Regions from separate parts of the Homo sapiens genome. Here region 1 is linked to region 2. The links are contacts of gene promoters, found by promoter capture Hi-C in blood cells and fetal thymus (Javierre and others, 2016). All regions are on one chromosome and are shown on one strand. Each heading gives the region's core, a stretch centred on a gene start or on the middle of the fragment in contact. The rest is flanking DNA. Distances are from core to core; before and after follow the strand shown. Region 1 overlaps CARD8 (caspase recruitment domain family member 8). Region 2 holds the start of CD79A (CD79a molecule).

Region 1 (5,804 bases), core at 424-2,923, 6.4 Mb after region 2:
CTTCCAAAAATTGGAATAAAATTCATTATTCCTTGACATATTGAAGAAACAAACAACAGAGAAATGAATTAATGATATAAATAAGGAATCAAAAGGATAAAACACAAATGTCCTGAAAAGATGTTAAAATTCACTAGTAATCAGGGGAATGTGCATGACAACCACTATCAGTTATCATTCTCACCCACAATACTGATGGAAATAAGAAAAGCTGACAAAATCAAGTGTGAATATGAATGTGTAGCAATGGAAACTCGTAAACCAGTAGTGGAGATGACTGAAAACACAGCCGCTTTGGAGAATAAACTGGCTGTATCTAGACTTCAAGACACACCTACCCTTGAAATTATGTGTGGACAAGAAAATGCATATAAAAAGTCCATTGTATTATGGTTTGCTATCAGAAAACAGGGTAACAAACTGAATGTCCATCATCAAAGAATGGATACATTGATTATAATATCATCATTGCATTAATACTGTAGCGCAGTTAACATAAATTATTAAAACCACATGTAAACATGGATAAATATTTAAAATGTACTATTGGGCCGGGCACGGTGGCTCACGCCTGTAATCCCAACACTTTGGGAGGCCGAGGCGGGCGGATCACCTGAGATCAGGAGTTCGAAGCCAGACTGGCAACATAGTGAAACTCCGTCTCTACTAAAAATACAAAAATTAGTCGTGCGTGGTGGCGGGCGCCTGTCACCCCAGCTACTCGGGAGGCTGAGGCAGAAGAATCGCTTGAACCCGAGAGGTGGAGGTTGCAGTGAGCCGAGATCACACCACTGGACTCCAGCCTGGATGACAGAACGAGACTCCGTCTCAAAAAAAAAAAAAAGTAATATTGATTAAAAATCAAATTGCATGAGACTGCACAGCACGATACCAAGCAAATACAAGTTTTAAATATTACAGAAAATAATATTTAAAATACAAACCAAATACATAAATCATGCAGGGGGATTAAGACGTTTCTGGATAGTGGCAACAGCCGAGAGTGGCTGGATGAATTTCAGAGAAATTTCATATATTGCTTCAATTTTATTTAAAATATATTATTACCTATGTTTTAGATATTTTATTGTAAATAATGGGCAAGGATATTATAAACTCTGCAGAAGTAAGTGTAGTCGTGTTTTTTCCTACTCACATTGAAGATGGCCCAGATGCTTGCACTAACCGCGTTTACCGCCCACAGCCATCATGGCGACCGGAAGTCCTGAGAGCTTGTTTCCCTCGAATCTCAGACAGCCCTCCTTCTCTATGAACATTATTTCAAAAGAAGTTGAGAACTAGAGAAACCGAAGCTTAAGGGGATTCTCCCATTTGGCCTGTCCTCCCCTAAAGTCACCACCTGCTGCGTTTCTGCAGCGCTTACCATGTGAGTTTCAGGAGCCCCAGGGTGCAGGAAGGAGGAGCGGAGGCTTGTTGCTTGGACACTGCCAGGCTGCTCTGTGTTCTGTTCCTCTTGGTCACTTGAGAAGAAAGGGAGAAGTTCCTATGAGGCTGTCGGAAAGGGAAATGGGGCCCTCCGCTTGTTGAAAACAAAACAAAACCCTCAGGAAGCTTTGCATCCTGTTAGTCATAGCTTAAATTTATGACTTCAATGACTTGGCTGGGACAGTCTTAATCTCTCCATACTCAAGTTGTTTTAATTTCTGTAATAATAATTTTTATACCAATGTTTGTGTTGTTAATACTAATAATTTTACATTGTAACTGTAATCCTTTAATTATTACAAGTGTTAACCTAAATAACAAACATATGAAAGCTTCCTAAAGGAAACAGTGTTTATTTGGGAATAGAGCATTGCAATTGGGAATAGATATGCCATATTAAACTATGTATATATTCAGGAAGATAAAGGAAGACAGAAATGGGGAGGATTGCATATTGTTTTGACAGGATTTTCCTTGGCCACAGGATCAGGCACAAAGGTGACATTAGTCTGAGGTTGGACAGGCAGTTGCTGGGCAGCATTCCTTGCAGAAATATTTTTTGTTTAAGGTTGCAATGACCTTTATGCAAGGTTGTGGGTTTTGTAGAGTCTTTTTCATTTTCAAGCATACAAGGATAAGACCCCCCCTCTTCATGGCTTTCCTGGCTTTATTTGTCAGGGTCATCTTAACATTAGTGGCTCCATTTTGTTCTGACAACTTTCAGATTTCTCCTTGTGATCAAGAACTTTCTCTAAAAGCATTATTGATCAATCATTCTGTAATTAAGATTTGATGTCCCCTGATGCCAGCATGGACCTCTCCCAGTTTGCTGGTCTCATCCCATGTTGTGGGGAGTGACTGGTGACTAGGAATCGATGTCAAAAGCACATTTGAGCAACAAAAGAGATTTGAAGGATGTGGCTCTCAGGCTAAGTCTCCCTGGAGTCCATTAGTAAGTTCAATTTTGTCTGTTCTACAGTCTTTTGCTATCCCTTTAAAGTGCTGATTCAGTATTATTTTGTTAGGAGCTGCACCTCTGAAAAAATTTAACAAGTAACACATACAAAGTTTAAAAAGGAGAAATACAAAGTAAGGGGAAATACAAATTAAGAGCAATATGAGATTTTCAGTTTGCATATGGTTTTGAGCCATAAACCTAGGTTTAAAGACAACTAATTGAAGAACTCAAACAGTTATTCGAGACAGCAGGGAGTTAGGTGAGACCTGGGGTAACCACATGGCCTGCTTTCTTATTTTGTGTATAGGAGCCTCAACTTTTCTCAGAGGAATTTATTCAGGTATAGCATGTCGTATTAGCAACATCACAGACAATTTCTTGCTTAACCAATGGATACTAAAGAATTTTGTAGGTTGGGTTCTGTTAAGTTATAAGCAGAAGGAATTGATCATAAAATTTAAGTTACACCATTATTCTGCTAAGTAGAAAAGGTCGAATTAAGTGAGATGAAAGTCTCATTATGATATAGAGTCTTGTTTCAGCATCTTGCAGAAAGTTATACAGTGTGAAAACACCAACTTTTTCTCCTGGTTTGTAGTGTGAACGTCTCTGGTTATGATATTGGGCAGTTTGGTAAACTATTGTGTGATCCGCATATCAGCCTTGAGGTTTGTTCCCTCTTTCATTTTCCTCTGGATCACCAACATGCTAATCTACGTTCACATCACTGAAACCGTAGAGGCCAATACCAATTTCACCATTTCTGGTCCTGGATATTTGCAAGACTGTTGTCAAACTAGGCCATACATACAATAATTTAATATACATTTGGGGCTTGGATTATATTTCTGTTAAATTGCACTGCTCTATGGGACTTATTTTATTCATTCCACAAATATATTTTGCACATGTTCCTTATTCTTGGTACTATTTAATGGATTTGGCATACATCCGTGATCTAAACAGATAAAACTCCCCCAAGGATCATTTATAAATGTCATGGTGATTCGCCATGTCCTGTTTGTGTTCCTCATGGTCTGGACCAGCATCAACATGGCCAGTCTCCTCTGCAGACACCGGCGGAGAGCCCAGCGTCTGCACAGCCCTAGCCTCTCTTCCCAGCCATCTCCTGAACACAGAGCCACCCATACCATCCTCCTGCTGCTTGGTTGCTTTGTGTGCTTTTATTGCTCAAACAACTTCATCACTCTTTATTTCTTTTATAAATCTGAGAAAAAATCAAGACTAGAGATGATCACTGGAATTATTTCATCATGCTACCCAACCATCTGCCCTTTTGTGCTAATAAAAAATAATAAAATTATTTCCTAATTTACCTCTTCCTCTCTAAGACAAGAATGATCAGCTCTCAGGGAGCATTCAATGGCTGATCTCAAACCCCATACTTTCTTCTGCAGCTGGGAAGTCTCCATGATGACTTTTGTGGAGAAAAAGTCATGCAGTTATTGAGCAATTGAATTAGGGCTAGTTTGAATTGAGGTGTATCATAAATTTAAAAAGCATTCAGGTTTTGAAGTCAATATAAATAACAGTATATAAATATTATCTTAATAACTTTCACATTGCTGACAAGTTTAAATTATGACATTTTGGGTAAAACGTATGTATATGTTTTGTTATGTTTACATATATATGCATATTTAAATAAAATACATATACACAAATATGTAAGTAAAACATATGTAAGAATATATATAATATATATAATTTTTTTTTTTTGAGACAGAGTCTTGCTCTGTCACCCAGGCTGGAGTATGCAGTGGTGTGATCTCAGCTCACTGCGGCCCCCACCTCCTGGATTCAAGCAATCCTCCCACTTCAGCCTTCCGAGTAGCTAGGATTATAGGTGTGCACCACCATGCCTGGCTAATTTTTTTGTATTTTTTAGTAGAGACAGAGTTTCCCCACGTTGGCCAGGCTGGTCTAGAACTCCTGACCTCAAGTGAACCGCCTGTGTCAGCCTCCAAAAGTGCTAGGATTGTAGGTGTGAGCCACCGCACTGGCCTTATCAGTATATACACACACACACACACACACACACACACATATGTGTATACATATACAACTACATAGGTATTTTTAAACTAACTGTATCTGCTTGTTTTTGCTTTTTTAAATGCAGTTGCTAGAAAATTTAATATACATTTGGGGCTTGGATTATATTTCTGTTAAACTGCACTGCTCTATGGCACTTCTTGTATTCATTCCACAAATACATTTTGCACATGTTCCTTATTCTTGGTACTATTTAATGGGTTGGACATACATCCATGATCTAAACAGATAAAACATAATAGCACAAGAGATTATACAGAATGTTTGTGGTACAGGAAAACGTATATGTACACATGATAGGAGCTAAAAAGAATAGGACTGGTTAAGAGAATGTGGTGTGTGAGAGTACAGGTGCAGGGAGCTGCAGTGACTGGGATTACAGGTATGCATCACCATGCCTGGCTAATTTTTGTATTTTTGTAGAGACGGGGTTTCACCAATTTGGCCAGGCTGGTCTCGAACTCCTGGCCTCACGTGATCCACCTGCCTCAGCCTCCCAAAGTGCTGTAATTACAGGTGTGAGCCACCGTGCCTGGCCAACATTTATCATTTTAAATACTCATCTGCAAAAATGTTTCCAAGTGGGGCCACTTCCCCACCCCTCATATGACAGTGGCAGTGATATACCATATACATGGTTATTAAAAAGAATCTGGAGCAACAATATGAATGTCAGACAAATTAGGCTTCAAGAGCATTTCCCTCCATCTTACAGGGGATAAACCCAAAGAAGTTATATTAAGATTCCAATAAAAGAATGCAAGATGACTATCTGTGTAAAAATGTAATCAATGGGGAGCAGGTGCACCTCCAATAATATTAGACAAAATATATTTTACCTAAACAGCATTACTAAGTATAAAGTAGATCACTTCAATAAGAATAACAATTTTAATTTTGTGTATACATATTCACACTTTCAATATGTATATAGTATACACGGGTAGAATGATAAACAGATATAGAATAATCCTCCACTCTTGTGGGAAATCTGTTCAATAGTCTTTCAGCAATTAACAGAATAACAGAGTATCAGTAAAGATATAAAAAATTGACCAAAGCAATTCATATTCTTGACTTAAGTGCCCTAGAATAACAACTCACACAGCCATTGAAGAATCCCCATCATCCTATCTCAAGCATAGAGGAAACACATAGCATACATATGTAGCCACATAGCAAACACAGAAATGACTATCAACAAAGTGGAAGAGTTTAATGCACAGATTAAGTTATCTGAATATATGTACAATGAGTTATAAATAATAAATAATTGAGCCAGGTGAAGTAGTACATGCCTGTAATCCCACCTACTTGGGAGGCT
Region 2 (5,471 bases), core at 1,185-3,684:
CATGGTGGCATCTGCTTGTAGTCCCAGCTACTCAGGAGGCTGAGGCAGGAGAATCACTTGAACCCGGGAGGCGGAGGTTGCAGTGAGCCAAGATCACACCATCGCACTCCAGCCTGGGCTACACAGCGAGACTCTGTCTCAAAAGAAAAAAAAAATTAAAAATAGCCAGGCATGGTGTGTGCACCTGTAATCCCAGCTACTTGGGAAGCTGAGGCAAGAGAATCACTTGAGCCCAGGAGTTTGACGTTATGATTATGCCACTGGACACCAGCCTTGGTGACAGAGAGAGGCCCTATCTCTAAAAAAGAAAAAAAAAAAAGTGGCCAGCCACGGTGGCTCCCGCCTGTAATCCCAGCACTTTGGGAGGCTGAGGTGGGTGGATTACCTGAGGTCAGGAGTGTGAGACCAGCCTGCCCAACATGGTGAAACCTGGTCTCTACTAAAAATACAAAAATATAGCCAGGCATGGTGGTGGCCGCCTGTAATCCCAGCTACTGAGGAGGCTGAGGCAGGAGAATCACTTGAACCTGGGAGGCAGAGGTTGCAGTGAGCCAAGATCACGCCACTGCACTTCAGCCTGGGTGACAAAGCGAGACTCCGTCTCAAAAAAAAAAAAAAAAAAAGTAACACAGGAAATAAAACCAAGACAAGATGAGCTCTCTGTGTCTCTGTGTGTCCCTCCCCAGACCCAACCCTGGCGTCCCCCAGAGGTAACCCCTCCCAGGAACTGGGCGTTTGCCACTCCCCTGCACGGGTCTACACCTCTGCTACAAACGTGTGTCCCTAAGCAGCGGACGCCTTTTGAAAACAAGTCAACTGTATCATGCTACGATATTTTTTCTGATGTTTGTGCTGTTTCTGAGACAGCCTTATGACACCTTCCCCTATTCTGTAGCATTCTGTTGGCTCACTTTGCCACAGTGTATGCACCCATTCTCCCACAAATGGACTTTTCATTTGCTTCTCAATGTTTGCTACCAAAAATCTCCCTGCAATAAATTTATTTTATATATCCCCTTGTATGTGTGTGAGGGTCCCCTAACTGCTCACAAATATCTCAGCAACTCCGCCCTCCCCACTCAGACCTCATTTCCCTCCTACCAGACATGCTCAAAGGAAACTGGGAGCAACACAAAGATGACTTTGAATCTCTGTCCACCACCCCTAGACTGTATGACACCCGCAAGTGACAACCTCCCCTCTCTGGCCTCGGTTTCCCCCTCTGTAAAATGGGGGATGGCCTACCTTGCCAGTCATGGCAGGTCAATATAAAACAACTTCTGGCTGTGCACAGTGGCACATGCCTGTAATCCCAGCACTTTGGGAAGCTGAGGCAGGAGGATTGCTTGAGGCCAGGAGTTCAAGACCAGCCTGGGCAATATAGCAAGATCCCATCCCTCTTAAAAAAAAAAAAGAAGAAAAATATATGTTGTTGTTGTTATTATTGTTATTATTAGAGACAGAGTTTCGCTTTTGTCACCCAGGCTGGAGTGCAATGGTGTGATCTCAGCTCACTGCAACCTCCACCTCCTGGGTTCAACTGATTCTCCTGCCTCAGCCTCCTGAGTAGCTGGAATAATAGGCATGTGCCACAACATCTGGCTAATTTTGTATTTTTAGTAGAGATGGGGTTTCGCCATGTTGGCCAGGCTGGTCTCAAACTCGACCTCAGGTGATTCTCCTGTCTCAGCCTCCCAAAGGGCTGGGATTACAGGCATAAGCCACCATAGCTGGCCTGTTTTTTTAAAAAAAGAATTCCAGTAAAGAGCTGATCATGGTTCTCACTCCTTGAATACCAGGAACACCATCTCGTATCACATAATGAGACAGGGAGACATTCTGGTCCTCATCTCACAGATGAAAAATGTCAAGCTTCGAAGGATCAAAGTGCCCACCTAGTCACACGGGTAGTCAGCCACAGGTCAGCCTGCCTTATTTATTCTTCATGAGTATTTATAGTGACTAACATTTACTGGGCGCCTACTGTGGGCCATTTCTGTGCATGTGACAACCCCTTTAAGTCCTTGTTTCTAATCCCAAGAAGCAAGGAAATGGGGTCAGGGAAGGGACAAGGTTTGCCCAAGTCCAGGCAGGGGGAGAGGTCAAGCTCAGAACCATCACCTGCCCATGACACATGCCCAGGACTCAGGTTCCCTAGGCTTCCTTCCAAAGGCTCAGCAGTGACGAGCCAGCCCTTGAACCAGCCTCTTCCCCCACCCAAGCAGCCACCTCTCAGGGGAATTGTGGCCACCACAGGTGCAGGGAGCAGTTTCTCTCCACTCACAGCCTGAAGCATACCCGGCAGGGGCTGTCCCCAGGCCCAACAAGCAAAGGGCCCAGTAGCGAGGGCCACTGGAGCCCATCTCCGGGGGGCTGGGCAGGAAGTAGGGTGGGGTTTGGGGTAGGGATCTGGTACCCTGGGACTGCTGCAACTCAAACTAACCAACCCACTGGGAGAAGATGCCTGGGGGTCCAGGAGTCCTCCAAGCTCTGCCTGCCACCATCTTCCTCCTCTTCCTGCTGTCTGCTGTCTACCTGGGTATGTGGCCAAAGGGCAGGAACTGGCGGGAGGTGGGGGAAGCTGTGGAGGCTGCAGAGAGGGCACAGGCAGAGGGAAGGGGGCTCAGGGAAAGGGGAAGAGGAGGCAGAGGATAGGGGACCCAGGGAAGATGCCTATAGAAATCGTATCTGTGCCAAGATGGGCCAAGGTGGGGCTGGAGGGAGCCCAGCGAAGGAGAAGGGGCGTCCACAGTCTCACACAGGGAGGCAGGAGCAAGAGTCACCTCCCCCACCTCCTGTTCCCCACAGGCCAAAATAAGGAACTAAAGTTGCTCTTGACTGAGCACCAGGGCTGGGGGCAGGAAGGGGACTTAGGGGTAGCAGCATTCAGCGTCTGTCAAGGGGAGAAAAAGCTTTCTCTGCCTTAAACCTCAGGTGCCTCTCTCTGTTGGGAGTCCCTTCTCAGCACTGGGGGAATGGGTGTCTCATGGACTCCCCCTCACCTGCTCAAGGACAGCTGGCAGGGGCTGTGGCCACGCTAACCCAGGAGTTCAGAGAAAAAGGTTCCCCACCCAAGGGGACACTGGGAGCAAGGATTGGAGTTCACGTCTGAGTCTTAAGCCCGTGACGATGAGGGTGCTCGGCCCCTCTCCCCATCTCTTCCTCCTTCTCTCTTCCTCACCTCCCTCCTCCACCTACCTCCAGAAGAGGGGACTGGCCATGTGGGAGGCCTGGCTGAGAGCTGGGGCTTCCCAGAGGAGCCCGGATTGGACACTGCAGCCAGCCTGAGCCGCCTCGTCTCACTCAGAGACACCCCCAGTCTCCACCCCGCTCTGAGCCCCTTCAATCACCAGCAGCCCAGCCCAAGGACTGAACTCACCCCTGACCCCTAGGTTGACACATACAACTTACAGAGAATGAGGGCCAGGCACAGGGTCACAGGCCAGGGCAGGCCACAGACTGGCTCCTCAGCCCAGGCAGGGAGAGGCCAGGGAGCCAAGAGTTTGAACCCAGTGCCACTCCTGACTGCCTGGTGATGCTGGCAACCCGCCTGCCCTCCCAGAGCCTCAGCCATCCCTCCTGTAAAATGGGGCTAAGGAGAGAACCTACTTCTAGGGTTCTGTGAATGATTACACAAGAAAAAGCGCCAGGTGCTGGGCCTGGCTGAGGCTGGGGTGCAAAAATGGACCGGGAAGGCTGCGGGAGGAGGGGACGCCTGCACTGCTTCTGGAAGGAGCTGTCTGGACAGCGGTCCTCCAGTGCCTGGAACAAACATCCAAAATCCAGAGAGTTCACAGGGCCAGAGTACAAAGTGGGTATGCGGGAGGGGGGCAAGAGATGGCGCTGCAGAGGTGAGAAGGGCCTCCCAGGGGTCTTACCATCCCAGGGAGTCTCATTCTCCTCTCCCAGGATATCCTCACCCACCCCAACCAGGTATGTCCTCTCTCCTTCCCAGGGGCTTCTTCACTTTCCCGCATCCCCCCTCTCCCCAGGATGTATCAGCCCCTGTCAGGGGCTCTCTCTCTCCCTCCCCACCCAGGAGAGTCCTCACCCTCTTCCCAGGAGTGCTGGAACTGCAGGGGCCAGGGCTGGGGAAATGTGTCACCATCCCCAGTCCCTGACCCACCCACCCTGTCTCTCCACAGGCCCTGGGTGCCAGGCCCTGTGGATGCACAAGGTCCCAGCATCATTGATGGTGAGCCTGGGGGAAGACGCCCACTTCCAATGCCCGCACAATAGCAGCAACAACGCCAACGTCACCTGGTGGCGCGTCCTCCATGGCAACTACACGTGGCCCCCTGAGTTCTTGGGCCCGGGCGAGGACCCCAATGGTACGCTGATCATCCAGAATGTGAACAAGAGCCATGGGGGCATATACGTGTGCCGGGTCCAGGAGGGCAACGAGTCATACCAGCAGTCCTGCGGCACCTACCTCCGCGTGCGCCGTGAGTGGCCCAGCCCTGGCCCCTACTCCCACTGTCCCGCTGGGGACACTCGGTTTATCTTTGAAGTGGGGATAGAGCCAGTACCTTCAATGTGGGTTTCAAACCGGCTTGGACAGAGGGACGGACATTCTCCTCTGCAGAGTGGGGTCTCTGGGGGGTCTGGGGCCTTGCAGGAGGTGGGCGGGGCCAGGAGGCTAGGGAGGGCAAGAGGGGCCAGGGCTCTGAGCCATACTACCTCCTTGCAGAGCCGCCCCCCAGGCCCTTCCTGGACATGGGGGAGGGCACCAAGAACCGAATCATCACAGCCGAGGGGATCATCCTCCTGTTCTGCGCGGTGGTGCCTGGGACGCTGCTGCTGTTCAGGGTGAGCCCCCTCGGACCTCTGAGTCAGCCGGGCGAGGGCCTGGGCCGAGGGACCCCCAATACCCAGGTAGCCCTCTAGAGCCTGAGGTTCCCCATCCAAAACTTGGGAGAATGAAAGCACCCACCATATAGGGGCTGTGGGAGTTAAATGAATGAATATAAAGAAGGGACTTGAACTGGCGCTGAGCCCAGGGGGTGTCTTCAATTTAGTTTCCCCTTCTGGGCTGTCCTCACGTCCACCTCCCCCCAAGAAGAGTCTCATTCTTCTCCCTAAGAGTGTCCTCACTCCCCTCCTGCCCTCACCCAGGAGTGTGGTTACCCTCCAGGTGTAGCCAAGACCAGGGAAGGTGGGGCCTGGTCCTCCCAGAATCTCTGATCTGTACCAGCCTCTCCTTAGGCACTACAGAAAGTGTGACTGTTATTGTTATTATTCATGGAGAATAGTAAGGGAGTGGAGACTCAAGAAGACGCTAGCTTGGGAGGCCGAGGCAAGAGGATCACTTGAGGCCACAAGTTTGAGACCAGCCTGGGCAACACAGCAAGACCCTATCTCTACACACACAAAGTCTTAAAAAAAAATTAGCCAGGCATGGTGGCACACACCTATAGTCCCAGCTACTCAGGAGGCTGAGGTGGGAGGATTGCTTGAGCCCAGGAGTTCAA

What was found. The method cuts DNA at HindIII sites, captures the fragments that hold promoters and counts their contacts. A CHiCAGO score of 5 or more calls a contact.
Region 1: a fragment that was not itself captured here is called in contact with the fragment with the promoter of CD79A in region 2 in 1 of 17 cell types (non-activated CD4 T cells); the score reaches 5.8 in non-activated CD4 T cells.

Annotation. Positions count from the first base shown.
Region 1 is chr19:48,248,367-48,254,170 of GRCh38, forward strand. CARD8 (caspase recruitment domain family member 8) reads right to left here. Exons shown (of 14, transcript NM_001184900.3): 2 at 1,385-1,481; 3 at 1,157-1,267. It also overlaps the pseudogene VN1R97P. Among named protein-coding and RNA genes, the nearest start is that of CARD8-AS1, 4.4 kb to the right of the region's middle. The HindIII fragment of the contact is 206 bases long and covers 1,571-1,776 here.
Region 2 is chr19:41,874,845-41,880,315 of GRCh38, forward strand. It overlaps CD79A (CD79a molecule), which reads left to right and starts at 2,435. Exons shown (of 5, transcript NM_001783.4): 1 at 2,435-2,539; 2 at 4,146-4,445; 3 at 4,691-4,809. The coding sequence starts at 2,461. RefSeq lists an enhancer at 1,100-1,169 and a silencer at 2,577-2,636. The HindIII fragment of the contact is 1,040 bases long and covers 1,871-2,910 here.